Regions from separate parts of the Homo sapiens genome. Here all the other regions are linked to region 2. Evidence: promoter capture Hi-C in human tissues and cell types (Jung and others, 2019). All regions are on one chromosome and are shown on one strand. The core of a region is centred on a gene start or on the middle of the fragment in contact, and the rest is flanking DNA. Distances in the headings are between cores, read along the strand shown. Region 1 has its middle 51 kb from the start of OGDHL. Region 2 holds the start of OGDHL (oxoglutarate dehydrogenase L). Region 3 has its middle 37 kb from the start of OGDHL.

What was found. The method cuts DNA at HindIII sites, captures the fragments that hold promoters and counts their contacts. A contact is called where the count stands out against the background at its distance.
Region 1: a fragment that was not itself captured here is called in contact with the fragment with the promoter of OGDHL in region 2 in 3 of the 25 tissues and cell types used here (H1 embryonic stem cells, liver and stomach).
Region 3: a contact is called between a fragment that was not itself captured here and the fragment with the promoter of OGDHL in region 2, in 2 of the 25 tissues and cell types used here (spleen and stomach).

Annotation. Positions count from the first base shown.
Region 1 is chr10:49,810,699-49,815,602 of GRCh38, reverse strand. It overlaps the pseudogene RPL21P89. Among named protein-coding and RNA genes, the nearest start is that of OGDHL, 51 kb to the right of the region's middle. The HindIII fragment of the contact is 3,861 bases long and covers 1,602-4,904 here.
Region 2 is chr10:49,759,266-49,763,668 of GRCh38, reverse strand. OGDHL (oxoglutarate dehydrogenase L) reads left to right here and starts at 1,346. Exons shown (of 23, transcript NM_018245.3): 1 at 1,346-1,430. RefSeq lists a silencer at 1,386-1,595. The HindIII fragment of the contact is 26,824 bases long and covers 1-4,403 here.
Region 3 is chr10:49,722,821-49,727,493 of GRCh38, reverse strand. No RefSeq gene overlaps it. Among named protein-coding and RNA genes, the nearest start is that of OGDHL, 37 kb to the left of the region's middle. The HindIII fragment of the contact is 5,697 bases long and covers 287-4,673 here.

The DNA.
Region 1 (4,904 bases), core at 2,283-4,782, 50 kb before region 2:
AGTGCAAAGGTCTTTTGTTGTTGTTGTTGTTACACACCTATTATGGCATGAATTAGTAGAGAACAGGTTCTGGCAGCTCAGGCTCCTTCCCATTGGTTCTCAGAAAGTGTGCTTCTCTGAGAAGAACAGGCTGGCGCCTCAGTTAAGCCCAGGTACCTTTCTCTTTGGCTTCCTTTTTTTCTGGTCATTTTCCTTCACACTTCTCAAGACGCTATCTCAACCTTTAGAGTCCTTACTACACTCAGTATGCACATTAATCTCTTGACAAGAGTATTCCCCTTAATTTGTTTACAACAATGCCAATAGCATGGTGGGTAACATTGTGGACTCCCAGTTTTGCCATGGGAACATTTGTGGGTATTCCTTTTCAAACAGTTCCCATACTGATGTCTATGGTATGACTTTTCTTGTTAGATTCGTGTGTATGTGGCCAAAGGAACAACTGCATGTTATAAAAGGTCCAGAGAACATATATCAGGTGCCTCTCCTCCTTTTTGTGTTTGTCATTTTGGTGAATTATTAGAAAATTGTGGTTCTGGCTGAAATGCTAAAGAAGTTCTTGAAACAGAAAGGAAACCATCAATGAAGGAATCTTGGAAGATCAGGGAGGAAGAGTAGAAACAGTAAAAGTATGGGTAAATACAATACACCTCTGTGGGTTTCGAAATTACATTTTTTGAAGCAAAATATAATTATGTCTATTGGGGTTTTCACTGTATGCAGAGAAAATAATTGTTATAAATGTGGGAAAGAAAAGGGGCATAGAGGTAAGGTTTCGGCTCACACAAACAATTAAAATGTTGATGCCAGTAGACTATGAAAAGCTATACATAATACAATGTAGTAGCTAGAGCAACCACTAGAAAGGCTATGAAAAGAGATATACTCAAAAACCCTACAGATAAGCCAAAATGGAATTAAAAAAAAAAAAAAGTTCAATTAACCCACAGGAAGAAAAAAAGAGAACAACCGGGAAAAAAAAATGTCAGAAAAACCAAAAGCTTATTCTTTGAGAAGATCAATAAAATCAGTAAGTCTGTAACCAGACTAAAAAAAAAAAGTAAAGATATATAATTATTAATATAAAAAATGGCCAGTCTCAGTGGCTCATGCCTGTAATCCCAGCACTTTGGGAGGCCGAGGTGGGCGAATCATGAGGTCAGGAGATTGAGACCATCGTGGCCAACGTGGTGAAACCAAGTCTCTACTAAAAATATAAAAATTAGCTGGGCATAGTGGCACGTGCCTATAGTCCCAGCTACTTGGAAGGCTGAGGCAGGAGAATCACTTCCGGGAGGTGGGGGTTGCAGAGAGCCAAGACTGCACCACTGCACCTCAGCCTGGTGACAGAGTGAGAATTCTTCTCAAAAAAAATAATAATAGTAAATGAAAGAGAGGGCATGACTACATATCCCATGACATTAAAAGTATAATAAAGGAATATTATGAACAACTGTGTTCACAAATTTAATAAGCTAGAAGAAATGGACCAATTCCTTGAAAAACACATCTGCTTTAAATCACATAAGAAGAAATAGAGAATCTATTTTATGGCTACACTATGACTAGACCTATGATTTTTAAAGATAATGAATCAATAATTAATGACCTTGAAACAGCATTTGACCCAGATTTCTGGTGAATCCTACCAAACATTTAAGAAAGAATTTATACCAATTTTCTATGTTATTCAGAAGATAGAAGCAGAGAGAATCCTTCTTAATCTCTGAGGTCAGCATTACCCTAATACTGAAACCAGACAAAGACATTACAGGAAAAGGAAACTACAGGCTAATATTTCCTATGAGCATAGATGTAAAAATCCCATACAGAATATTAACAAATTGAATCCAGAAGTGTATTAAGATAATTATACACGCAACCAAGTGGGATTTATACTAGGTATGTAAGGCTGGTTCAACATTCAAAAGTCAATTAATGTAATCCATTACATCAACAGGTTAAAGAAGAAAAATAATGTGATCATATTAATAGATGTAGAAAAAGCATTTGACAAAATGCAACACACATTCATGATTTAAAAAAAAAAACCCTTTGGCAAACTAGGAATAGAAAGAAAACTTTGAATGTTAGGAAGATATCTTTGGGGGGAAAAAAGAAAGAAAACTTCCTAAACTTTATCACGAACATTTAGAAAAAGCCTACAGGTAACATCATACTTAACGGTGAGAAACGTGAAGCTTTCCTGCTAAGATCAGGAATGAGGCAAGGATATCCCATATCACCACTGTTTTTTAACATCATACTGGAAATCCTAGCTAGTGCAATACAACAATAAAGGGAAATACTTTGTTCACAGATGACATGTAGAATTGACAAATAAGAAACTGATAAACAATTGCAGCAGGGTTGCAGAATACAATGGTTTTTGGGTTTGTTTTGTTTTGTTTGAGATGGAGTTCCACTCTGTCACCCAGGCTGGAGTGCAGTGGCACAATCTCAGTTCATTGCAACTTCCACCTTAGGGGCTCAAGGGATCTTCCCACCTCAGCCTGCCAGGTAGCTGGGACTACAGGCATGCACCACCACACCCGGTTAATTTTTTGTGTTCTTAGTAGAGACAGGGTTTTGCCGTGTTGGCCAGGATGGTGTCGACTCCTGGACTCAAGTGATCCACCTGCCTTGGCCTCCCAAAGTGCGGGGATTACAAGTGTGAGCCACCACGCCTGCCCAGGATATAATATAATGTACAAAAGTCTATTGCTTTTCTATACACCAGCAATTAAGTGGAATTTGAAATTCAAAGCACATTACCATTTACATTACCCCCTGCCAAAATAAAATACTTAGGTGTAAATCTAACAAAATATGTATAAGATGTATATGAAGAAAACTACTTAACTTCAATGAAAGATATCAAAGAACTAAACCATGTTCATGGACAAGAAGACTCAATATTGTCAAGATGTCAGTTTTTTCCTACTTAATCTATAGATTCAACACATTCCCAATTAAAATCTCAGCAAATTATTTCATGGATATTGATGAACTAAGTCTAAACTTTATATGGAGAGACAAAAGACCCAGAATAGCCAACTCAGTATTGAAGGAGAACAAAGTTGGAAGACTTTGGCATGACGTCAAAACTTACTAAACAACTGGGTCTAAAATGATGATAAATAAAGCTACAGTAATTCATACTGGCAAAAATAAATAGACCAATGGAATAGAATAGAGGCCCAGAAATAGACCCACATGAATACAGTCAACTCATTTTTTGACAAAGGAGGAAATGCCATACAATGAAGCAAAGACAGTGTTTTCAACAAATGATGCTGGAACAACTGGATATCTCATGTTAAAAAATAAATGTAGATATAGACCTTACACTCATCACAAAAATTCACTGAAAATTGATCATAGACCTAGATGTACAATGCAAAACTGTAAAATCCCTAGAAGACAACATAGGAGAAAACCCGGTTGACTTTTTAGATGCAACACCAAAGGCACACTACATAAAGGAAATAATTGATAAACTGGACTTCATTAAAATTCAAAACTTCTCTCCAAAAGACACAGTTAAGGGAATGAAAAGACAAGTCATAGGCTGGGAGGAAATATTTGCAAAAGATAGATCTAATAATGAACTGTTCTCCAAAATATACAGAAAGGACTCAAAGCTTAACAATAAGAGAAAGAACACCTAATTAAAAATGAACAAAACGGCCGGGCACGGTGGCTCACGCCTGTAATCCCAGCACTTTGGGAGGCTGAGGTGGGCGGATCATGAGGTCAGGAGATTGAGACCATCCTGGCTAACATGGTGAAACCCCGTCTCTACTAAAAATACAAAAAATTAGCCAGGCATGGTGGCAGGCACCTGTAGTCCCAGCTACTTGGGAGGCTGAGGCAGGAGAATGGCGTGAACCCAGGAGGCGGAGCTTGCAGTGAGCCATGATCGCACCACTGCACTCCAGCTTAGGCGACAGAGCGAGACTCCATCTCCAAAAAAAAAAAAAAAAAAAAAAAAAAAAGAACAAAATACCGAACAGACATCTCACCAAAAATGATACACAAATCACAAGTAAACATATGAAAAGATATTCAACAATAATGTGTTATTAGGAAACTGCAAATTAAAACAACAAGATGCCACTACATACCTATTAGAATGGCCGAAATCAAAAGCACTGACAACACTAAATGCTGGCAAGCATGTGGAGTAACAAGAACTCTCATTTATTGCTGGTAAAAATGCAAAATTTTATAGCCATTTTGGAAAACAGTTTGACACTTTCTTACAAAACTAAACATAATCTTACCATATGATGCAGCACTCATACTCTTTAGTATTTATCCAAATGAATTGAAAACTTCACACAAAAACCTATACATAGATGTTTATAGCAGCTTTGTTAATCATTTCCAAAATTTGGAAGCAACCAACATGTTCTTCAGTAGATGAATGGATAAAGAAACTATGGTATATCCTGGCTGGGCACAGTGGCTCATGCCTATAATCCCAGTACTTTGGAAGGCCAAGGTGGGCAGATCACCTGAGGTCAGGAGTTCAAGACCAGCCTGACCAACATGGAGAAACCCCATCTCTACTAAAAATACAAAATTAGCTGGGCGTGGTGGCGCATTCCTATAATCCCAGCTACTCAGGAGGCTGAGGCAGGAGAATCACTTGAGCCCAGGAGGCGGAGGTTGTGGTGTGCTGAGATCGCGCCACTGCACTCCAGCCTGGGCAACAAGAGCAAAACTCCATCTCAAAAACAAACAAACAAAAAACTATGGTACATCCAAACAATGGAACATTATTCAGTACTAAAAAGAAGCGAGCTATCAAGCCATGAAAAGACACAAAGGAAATTTAAATAGTGATAGAAGCCAATCTGAAAAGGTTACATACTGTATAGTTCAACTATATGACAGAG
Region 2 (4,403 bases), core at 97-2,596:
GCCTTGAAGAGACAGTTCCTCTATGGCTCAGCCCTGCTTCCTGAAGTAAATTTTCAGCTTTCCTCTGATTCTGTGAGTTGCCTTATATACAACCTTCATATCAACTCGTTTTCGGCTGAAGCTAGCCAGGTCATTTTTGGTGCTTGTGTCCAAAGAATTCCCAATGAACCCTGCCCTTCTGCACCAGATAAAATCTTACTCATCCTTCAGGATCCAAGTCAAGTGTCCATTTACTCACTCAGTCATTCATTCAACAAATATTTACTGAAAAATACCATGATAGTGCTGTGTTAAGTGCTGAAGATTCTTGACCACATGTATCCCTAACTGTCTCCAAATAAAGAACTTTTGGGAGACTTCAGGTGCAGAAGTTAGTTGTATTCCTTTCTTCGTGGCACTCTGTCAGCAGTGATCTGGGTAATTGATTAATTACCTCATATCCACATTCCCCATCCTCCTCCCTCGACAAGCAACCATATTAATTGGTTTGATATGTACTTGAATATATTCTTGTGAAGTGCATACTGTAGTTTTGAGATTAAAATTCAAGAGTGTAAGTGTAGAAGCAGAGAAGCCAGTTAGGAGGCTGCTGCGATAATCCAGGAGAGATTTGATGGCAACTTGAACCACAGGTATGTTATGTTCCTATACAAGAAATCCCTGCATTTAAATGAGAACAAAACCCAACAGAAAGCTGAAAAAAATACAACAGAAAACCCCAAACTAACAAACAACGGGAGATGCAAATGGTTGATAACCAGAGAAATGCAGATTAAAACAATAACAGGACATTGCATCTGCTATTCTGATAATAATTAGAAAGTTGATCTCTATCCCAGAGAAAGTTCCACGCAGGATCCTAAGGGAATGTGTATGAAGAAGTTCATTGCAGCCTTGTTTGTGGCCACGGGGTGGTGAGGACAGCCTGGGTCACCATCAGTGGGAGGATGAATGGGTAAAATGTGTATCAGATTTGGGGTAAGCACTTTTCACGCATTATCTCATCTTTTTTTCAAAACATCCCTAAGATAGTGGAACTTTTCATAGCATTCCCATTTTACAGACGACAAAACAAAACCTATCCTCTCCTACACACAAAGGCTGCTTGTCGTCTGGTACATTCGTCCTAGTTTTAGGACGAGCACACGGGGTTCAGGGCCTCAGCCCCGTTCTGCGGTCTCAGAGAGGAGTCCCCCCTTCGGCCGTGGGCGACCTCGGGCCTGGGCCGCCAGCACCGTGGACAGCGCCAGGAGCGGGGCGGGGCATCCATGGAGACGTCACGACGCGCGGAGTCTCAGGGGCGCGCGCCCGTGGGCGGCTGCGTCACGTGACCCAGGTAATTGGCACGGCGCGCGCGCACCCCTTCCGCGCAGCCCCCTGACCTGCAGCCTCCGGACCTCGCTGCAGCGCGGACCCGGCCCGCCCGCCCGGTGAGCGCGGCGGCCCGCCCCCTCCCGGTCCCTGCGCCGCTGCTTCTCCTGCCGTCCTGGGGACCGGCCCCACAGCTCCTCTCTCCTGGGTCCTGGGGCGCCGCTGCCCGCAGCCCTGAGTCTGGCCCCGCCGGGGGGAGGGGGAGGAGGAACAGACTGTGACCTTGGCTCTGACCTTGGCTGGCCGTGGCCTCCCCCGGGACCCCCAGCCCATCGCGCGCGTACCACCCGGCTAGTCCAGGGTCCTGCGCAGAGGAGCGGGTGCTCGCGGTGGGTTTCTCCAGCCCGAGGACTTCAGACTGCCCCGCGCCTTCCGTGGCCAGGGGAGGGCCCGGAGCTGCGAGGGCTGTGCGGGGGATGGGGAGGGTCAGCGCTGTGCACCTGGCGGGACCCATAGGCAGCTTCGGACTACCAAGGAGCCTAATAGACGGTTTTAACCGCGGTCTCCGATTACAGATGAGAAAACTGAGGCCTGAGAGAGGGCGGCATGGCCTGAGGTCGCTGCTTGCATGGGATGCGCTTCTTCCGCCCCCCGGGAGATGTGGGAGGGGGACGGGGTAATCCCGAGGCCACAGCAGGCTGCAGTACGCATTCGCCGAACCGGAGAGACCCTTTGACGCCCCTCGGCCACCTGGCTCAAGCAGGCCCTAGCAGCCCCTCCCCAGTGTCTTGGAACAGGCCCCAACTAAATAGAATTGCGGTTTGTTGCTGAGCAAAAGCTCATCTGCTTCTCAGAAAGTGGGGTCAGAGTAGACCTGCTGCTGAGAGAATCCAGGCTCTGCTGCTGCCCAGCTTGGAGGGCCCTCTGGGGAGAACCCTTCCCGGCCTCTGTTTACTGATCTCTGCAATGGGTGCATTAGGGAGTAGTCCTCACTAGGGCACCCCAGACAGGGTTGTGTGTGTGGGAGTCTTAGTGGCCATGGTGTCGGCAGTTTTCTGGGGTTGGGTTGAGGTTCTGAGGTTGGGTTGGGGATGCTATGTGACCTTGTCCTCAGAGAAGAGACCCCCAAGAGATACCCAGGGCAACTCTGCTGGAGTCTGGACTGGGCAGGGGGTTGCACAGGGCACCTGACTCTCACTCCTTGTTGCTGTCCTTGACTGTATGGGCAGGAACTAGTAGGGCTGGCTTGGGCTCTGGCTCTAGATACTGAGCCCTCATGCCCTGCTGGGATGCAGGTGGGGGTGGGTGGCAGGCTGCCCTCCTGCCAGGCTGGGTCAAGGTCACAACAGTGCCCAGTGGCCAACCCAGACTGTTTAGTGTTTATAAAACAGTGTTCCTGCACCGGGCCATTCTGGACACAGCCAGACTTTGTCCCTATCTGGCCCAAACTGCCCCATTCCCCTGTGGGGGTGGGAGTGGCGCTGGCAGAGGGAGCAGCTCTGGCTCAGCTGATGGGAACTGCATCGCTAAGAGAAATCTGGCTTACATATTGACTGCAGTGATCAGGGCACAGTCGCTGGAACCCCACACAGCCCTGTCACTCACCAGATTAGCCAGCTTAGCCTCTTGCACCTCAGTTTCTCTGTTTATAAAGTGGAACTGATATGAGTGCCCACCCCATGGGATGTTGGGAGGATTAAATGAGCACAGTATCTGTCCTAGAATCAGTGCTCCTGACGGTGCCTATTATGTTTATTCCCATGACGATGGTCTTGATATCTAGTTTCCTTTGCCATAGACTGGGGATGATAAAGCGTCCTGGGTTGTGGATTCTTTTTGATGCTCTAGAAGATTCTCCCTGATGCTTCAGGAGCTCCTGGGCCTAGTGGCCAGCTGGGCTGGCACGACCTTCTCTTTGCCCAGGCCTCTAGGATAGTCAGAGGTGGAACAGGAGTTGGGACCCTGGCTGCCTGACCCCAGAGCTCATGCCTGGCACTTGGAGAGGTGCTGCTCCCAGAGGAGCCGGCCCCAAGTGCCCCGCGCTCTAGGGCTTGGCATCACTGGCTCGTGGGCTGGGCCACATGACCCGAAGCCTCAGGGGCTGAGCATTGGGGAGGGAAACTTGGGGGCACTCAGAGGCTCCCAAGCTCACCTCCCTCCTCCCTGCAGTGGAATCTTTTTTGTTTTGAAAATTTTCTCTGTTCAGGCTTGCTGCTGGTTGCCCCAGGAGCCTGTCCTCCCTCCATTGAGGTGACATCACCCCTTTCCTCTGGCTCATGTGAGTTAGAAGGAGGGCTGTGCCCTGCCCTCTGGTGGGGCCTGACCTTTTGTGGAAAGTCCAGCCAGTGAGTTTCTGGTGACATGGTTGAGCTGATGGCAGGGGTGAGGCAGAAGGGTGCAACAGGTGTTGGCTGAGCACACCTGACCAGGAGCGTTGGCTCAGGGCCTGGCCTGGGCAGTACTTGGAAGCCAGTTATACCCCAGAATGCACATTTTCTGGGGCCTGAGCTGTCCAGGGGTAGGGGACTCCTCCCGCCTGGGCGACCCCTTGTGGGGTGGTCCTTGCACCCAGCTTACAAGCTGGGCGGTCTGGGCAGGAGGGCATTAGCTGGTATTCATGGGGAGCTGCTCTATGGCAGTGGCTGTGCTGGAGCAGAGGAAGGGGTTCTGCTCACAGTTGTAGGGTGGGGAACAGAGGTCCCACTTTACACATCATGTGTAGGATGAGGTGGCAGGGGTATGGGGTGATCTGGGACCTCAGTAGGCCCTATCAACCCCTAACCTGCCTGGATAGGGATATCTGGGGGGTTCTCCAGGATTGGCAGAGGGCTCTTAGAACTCTTACCGTCTGCGGAATAGAGAAAGCCCCCATCACTGAAAGCCCAAGATTTAGATATTTTCCCTGGGAAGGCACAGGTGACAGAGTGAGGTGAGATGAGCTGCAGGGCCTGGTTCCCCGTGGTCTGGGTGGGCTTCCAGTCTGTACCTGCCTGGACTGTTAGCTGTCTTGAGTGGCGCTGGGCTGGGCCTGGGGCTGCCTTCCATTCTACTCTTCCTGCCCCTCCAGACCTTAGCCCTTCCTGCAATGAAGT
Region 3 (4,673 bases), core at 1,886-4,385, 38 kb after region 2:
TTATAATGTCTTTGTCAAATTTTGATATCTGTTGGGAAGTGTTCCATCATCTCTTGTTTTCTGGAAGAGATTATGTGGACATGGCATAATTCTTCTTTAAACATTTGGTAGAGTTAACCAGTGAAGCCACTTGGGCCTGGAGTTTTCTTTGTGGAAGGGTTTTAAATAATAAATTCAATTAAAAAATAAATTTAGGGCTACTCGTATTATCTGTCTTCTCTTGAGTGAGTTTTTGCACCTGTTATGAGCTTGATTGTATCCCCTAAATTCACATGCTGAAGTCCTCACTCCCAGCATCTCAGAATGTGGCCATATTTAGAGATATGGCCTATAAAGGGATAATTCAATTAAAATGAGGTCATTAGCATGGGCCTGAATCCAAAATGACTGGCATTCTTAGAAGAAGAGAAGATTAGGACACAGACATACACAGAGGAAAGACCATGTGAATGTGAAGACACAGAGAGAGGATAGCCATCTGCAGACCAAGAAGAGAGGTCTCAGAAGAAAGCAACATTGCTGACACCTTGATCTCAATCTTCTAGTCTTCGGAATTGTGAGAAATTGTGAGGAATTATGTGGTACTTTGTTATGGCAGTCCTAGGAAACTAATACATAGTCTTTCAAAAAATTTTTCCATTTCAGTAAGTTGTTGAATTCATTAGCATAGAATTGTTCCTACTATTGCCTTATTATTCTTTCAATGTCTGTAGGCTCTGTAGTAATGGCTCTTCTCTCATTTCTGCTTTTGGCAATTTGTGTCTTCTCTTTTTTTTTCTGACATGTCTGACTAATATTTATCATTTTTTTGGCTCTTTTCAAAGAACCTACTTTGGGTCTTATTGATTTTCTCGATTTGTTTCATTTTCTATGTTACTGACTTCTGCCTTCATCTTTATTACTTTCTTCTGCTTATTTTAGGGTTCATTTGCTCTTACTTTGCTTTTCTTCTCATAAGAGTAGTCATATCCCATCAATTTCTCCCTACTTTTAGTTGATCTACAGTGCCTCAAACAGTTGTTCTTTTTACATTTTTGTCCAGATTTTTGTAAATGTTATCAGCAGGAGGGTTAATCTGACACAAATTCCTCTTTCATTACCAGAAGCTGTTCCCTACAACCACCATCTTTGAAGGAAGATTTGGCAATATGTATTAAAAATTTAAATACCTCCATTTCTTGGTTTCTGTCCTAGAGATATTCTTATACATGTGTATACAGAAATGAGTACAAAGATTTTTCATTTCAGCATTATTCAAAATAGTGAATTAATAAGTCCCTAAATGTTCTATAGCAAGGATTGGCAAAATTTTTCTGTAAATAGCTAGATTGTAAGTAATTTAGGCTTTGTAGGCCATATGATTTCTGTAGCAATGTCTTACTCTATTCAGGCTGTTGTAACAAAGACTGTGGTCTGTGTAGCTTATAAACAACAGAAATTTATTTCTCACAGTTCTGGAGGCTGGGAAGTTCAAGATCAAGATGCTGGCAGATTCAATGTCTTATTAGTGCCTGCTTCATGGTTCATAGATAGCTATCTTCTCACTGTGTCCTCACATGGCAGATGGGATGAGGGAGCTCTTTGAGGTCCCTTTATAAGGTCATTAATCTCGTTTATTAAGACTCCACCTTCATGGCCTAATCAGTTCCCAAAAACCCTGCCTTCAAATACCATCACATTGGGAATTAGGTTTCAACATATTTAGGGGACACAAACATTCATTCTATAGCAAGCAATAACTCAACTCTGCTGAAGTAATGTATAGATAATATGTAAATGAATAGATATGTATGTGTTCCAATAAAACTTTTCCTATGGATTCTGAAATTTGAACTTCACATAATTTTCATGTATCACAAAACATTCTTTTTAAAAAATTTTTAACCACTTAAAGATATAAAAATTATCCTCAGATTGCAGGTCATACAAAAATAGGTGGTGGGCCAGATTTGATCTATTGTTCATAGTTTGCCAATCCCTAATCTATAGATTTTATTTAACTTTATACACAAGTAAGTGATTTTTTTCTTAAATTTTAATTTTAAAATAATTATAAATTCACAAGAACTTGCAAACATAGTACAGAGTACCTTTTAGCCAGTCTCCCCGAGTGGGTATATTTTATATAATTACAGTGCAACGGTACAATATGTGTATAGTTTTATACCTTTTTTTTTTTTTTGAGACAGTCTCGCTCTCTGTCACCCAGGCTGGAGTGCAGTGGCATAATCTTGGCTCACTGCAACCTCTGCTCCCGGGTTCAAAACGATTCTCATGCCTCAGCCTCTCCAGTAGCTGGGATTACAGGTGTGCGGCACCATGCCAGGCTAATTTTTTTTTTTTTTTTTGAGACACAGCTTCACTCTGTTGCCCAGCCCGGAGTGCAGTTGGACTATCTCAGCTCACTGCAACCTCTGCCTCCTGGGTTCCAGTGATTCTCGTGCCTCAGCCACCTGAGTAGCTGGGACCACAAACACCTGCCACCACGCCGGGCTGATTTTTGTACTATTAGTAGATATGGGGTTTCGCCATGTTGGCTAGGCAGGTCTTGAACGCCTAACCTCAAGCAATCTGTCCATCTTGGCCTCCCAAAGTGCTGGGATTACAGAGATGACCCACTGCACCGGGCCACATTTTTGTATTTTTTGTAGAGACAGGGTTTCTCCATGTTGGTCAGGCTGGATTTGAACTCCTGGCCTCAAGTGATCTGCCTGACTGAGCCTCCCAAAGTGCTCCCAAAGATTATAGGCATGAGCCACCATGCCCAGCCAATGCCATTTTATTACATATGTAGACTTGTGTAACTATTATCCAGCATCACAAAGATCTCACTCGTACTGCCTATGTATAGTTACAGCCTCTCTGCCACTGTCCCTAACCTCTAGCAACCTTTAATCTCTTTTCCATCTCTAAAATTTTGTCATTTCAAGAATATTATATATGTTGGGTGTGGTGGTGGCATGCACCTGTAATCCCAGCTACTAGGGAGGCTGAAACAGAAGGATCCCTTGATCTCAGGAGTTTGAGGCTGTAGTGAGCTATGATTGTGACACTGCCCTCCAGCCTGGGTGACAGAGCAAGGCTTTGTCTTGGAAAAAAAAAAGTTATATAAATGGAATCACACAGTGTGTTACTGGTTGAGATTGAGCTTTTTTCGTTCAGCAAAATGTTGTGAGGTCCCTCCAAAAAGTACCTGCTTTGTGATCAATATGAAAGCTAGGCAGCGCTAAGTTGAACACTCTGATTGTATTGACATGCTTTTTGGTTTTAAATTGGAGTTGCTGTTAAGTTGTTGCTTAAGGAGCAACTTCTACAAATGTTGTGTCTATGAAGCTTATATTCCCTGAAACAGTATAGAATGTGGATCTGAAACATCCCATGGCATGAATGCTACTTCAGTTTGCTGATCTTCCTCTTAACTGCTGAACTGGATTTCCTTGTGTTGACATCTCTAGCCCAAAGGTCTTGAGGTGCTGGGGAGTGAGCAGTGCTGAGAAGCCAGCAGAAAGGGGGCTCCAGTTGGCAGCATTGTCTTTCTTCCTTCCCTGTGAGCCCCATGCAGCAGCCAGTGGGTCCCTGTCCCTGGTTCCCCAGGGTGAGGCCAGCTGGAGGACCACACCTGCCACTTATGTGGAATCTTCCTCTGTGGAGGGTCGGAGATCTTTGCTTGGCAGAGCTGAGTTCGCCAGGGTCCCTGTCTGCACCATCTCTGTCAGCTAGTCTCAACGCTGGGACCATGGTTGTGGGGGGACAGTGACCACACTTGCTGTCTACTATGGTAATTAAGGTAAAAATGGGAATCAAATGGGGATGTATTTGATTCTGCTATAATGCTTATGGTTCTTTCTAATTCTTAAATAATATTATGAAATATTTAAAATATACAGAAAAGGAGGCTGGGCATGGTGGCTCATGCCTGTAATCCTAGCACTTTGGGAGATGAAGGCAGGTTGATCACCTGAGGTCAGGAGTTTGAGACCAGCCTGGCTAACATGGTGAAACCCTATCTCTATGAAAAACACAAAAATTAGCCGGGCGTGTTGGTGCACACCTGTCGTCCCAGCTATTCCGGAGGCTGAGGCAGGAGAATTGCTTGAACCCAGGAGGTGGAGGTTGCAGTGAGTCAAGTGAGACTCTGTCTCAAAAAAATAAAATATACAGAAAAGTGAAAAGGATATGAGAACAGACATCAGTATATCCATCAACCACTCATCTTGATCAAATTCTGATGTCTTGGTCTACATGCTTTCCATATTTTTACAACAATAAAGCATAACAAATACAGTGGAAGCTCTTTGTTACTTTTTCATCTTGGGTTTTAGCAGTTGTTTATAAATTCTAGAATCTGAGCCTTGACAGTTACATGTGGTACAGGTATCATTTTCCAAACTGTAAGTTATCTTTCTATTTATCCCATCTTTTGTTGAATAAAAGTTTTAGTTTTCTTTTTTCTTTTCTTTTTTTTTTTTGAGATGGAGTTTTGCTCTGTCGCCCAGGCTGGAGTGCAATGGCGCCATCTCTGCTCACTGTAACCACTGCCTCCTGGGTTCAAGCCTGCCCCTGCCTCCCGAGTAGCTGGGACTGCAGGCACAGGCCACCACGTCCAACTCATTTTTGTGTTTTTAGTAGAGACAAGGTTTCTCCATGTTGGCCAGGCTGGTCTCGAACTCCTG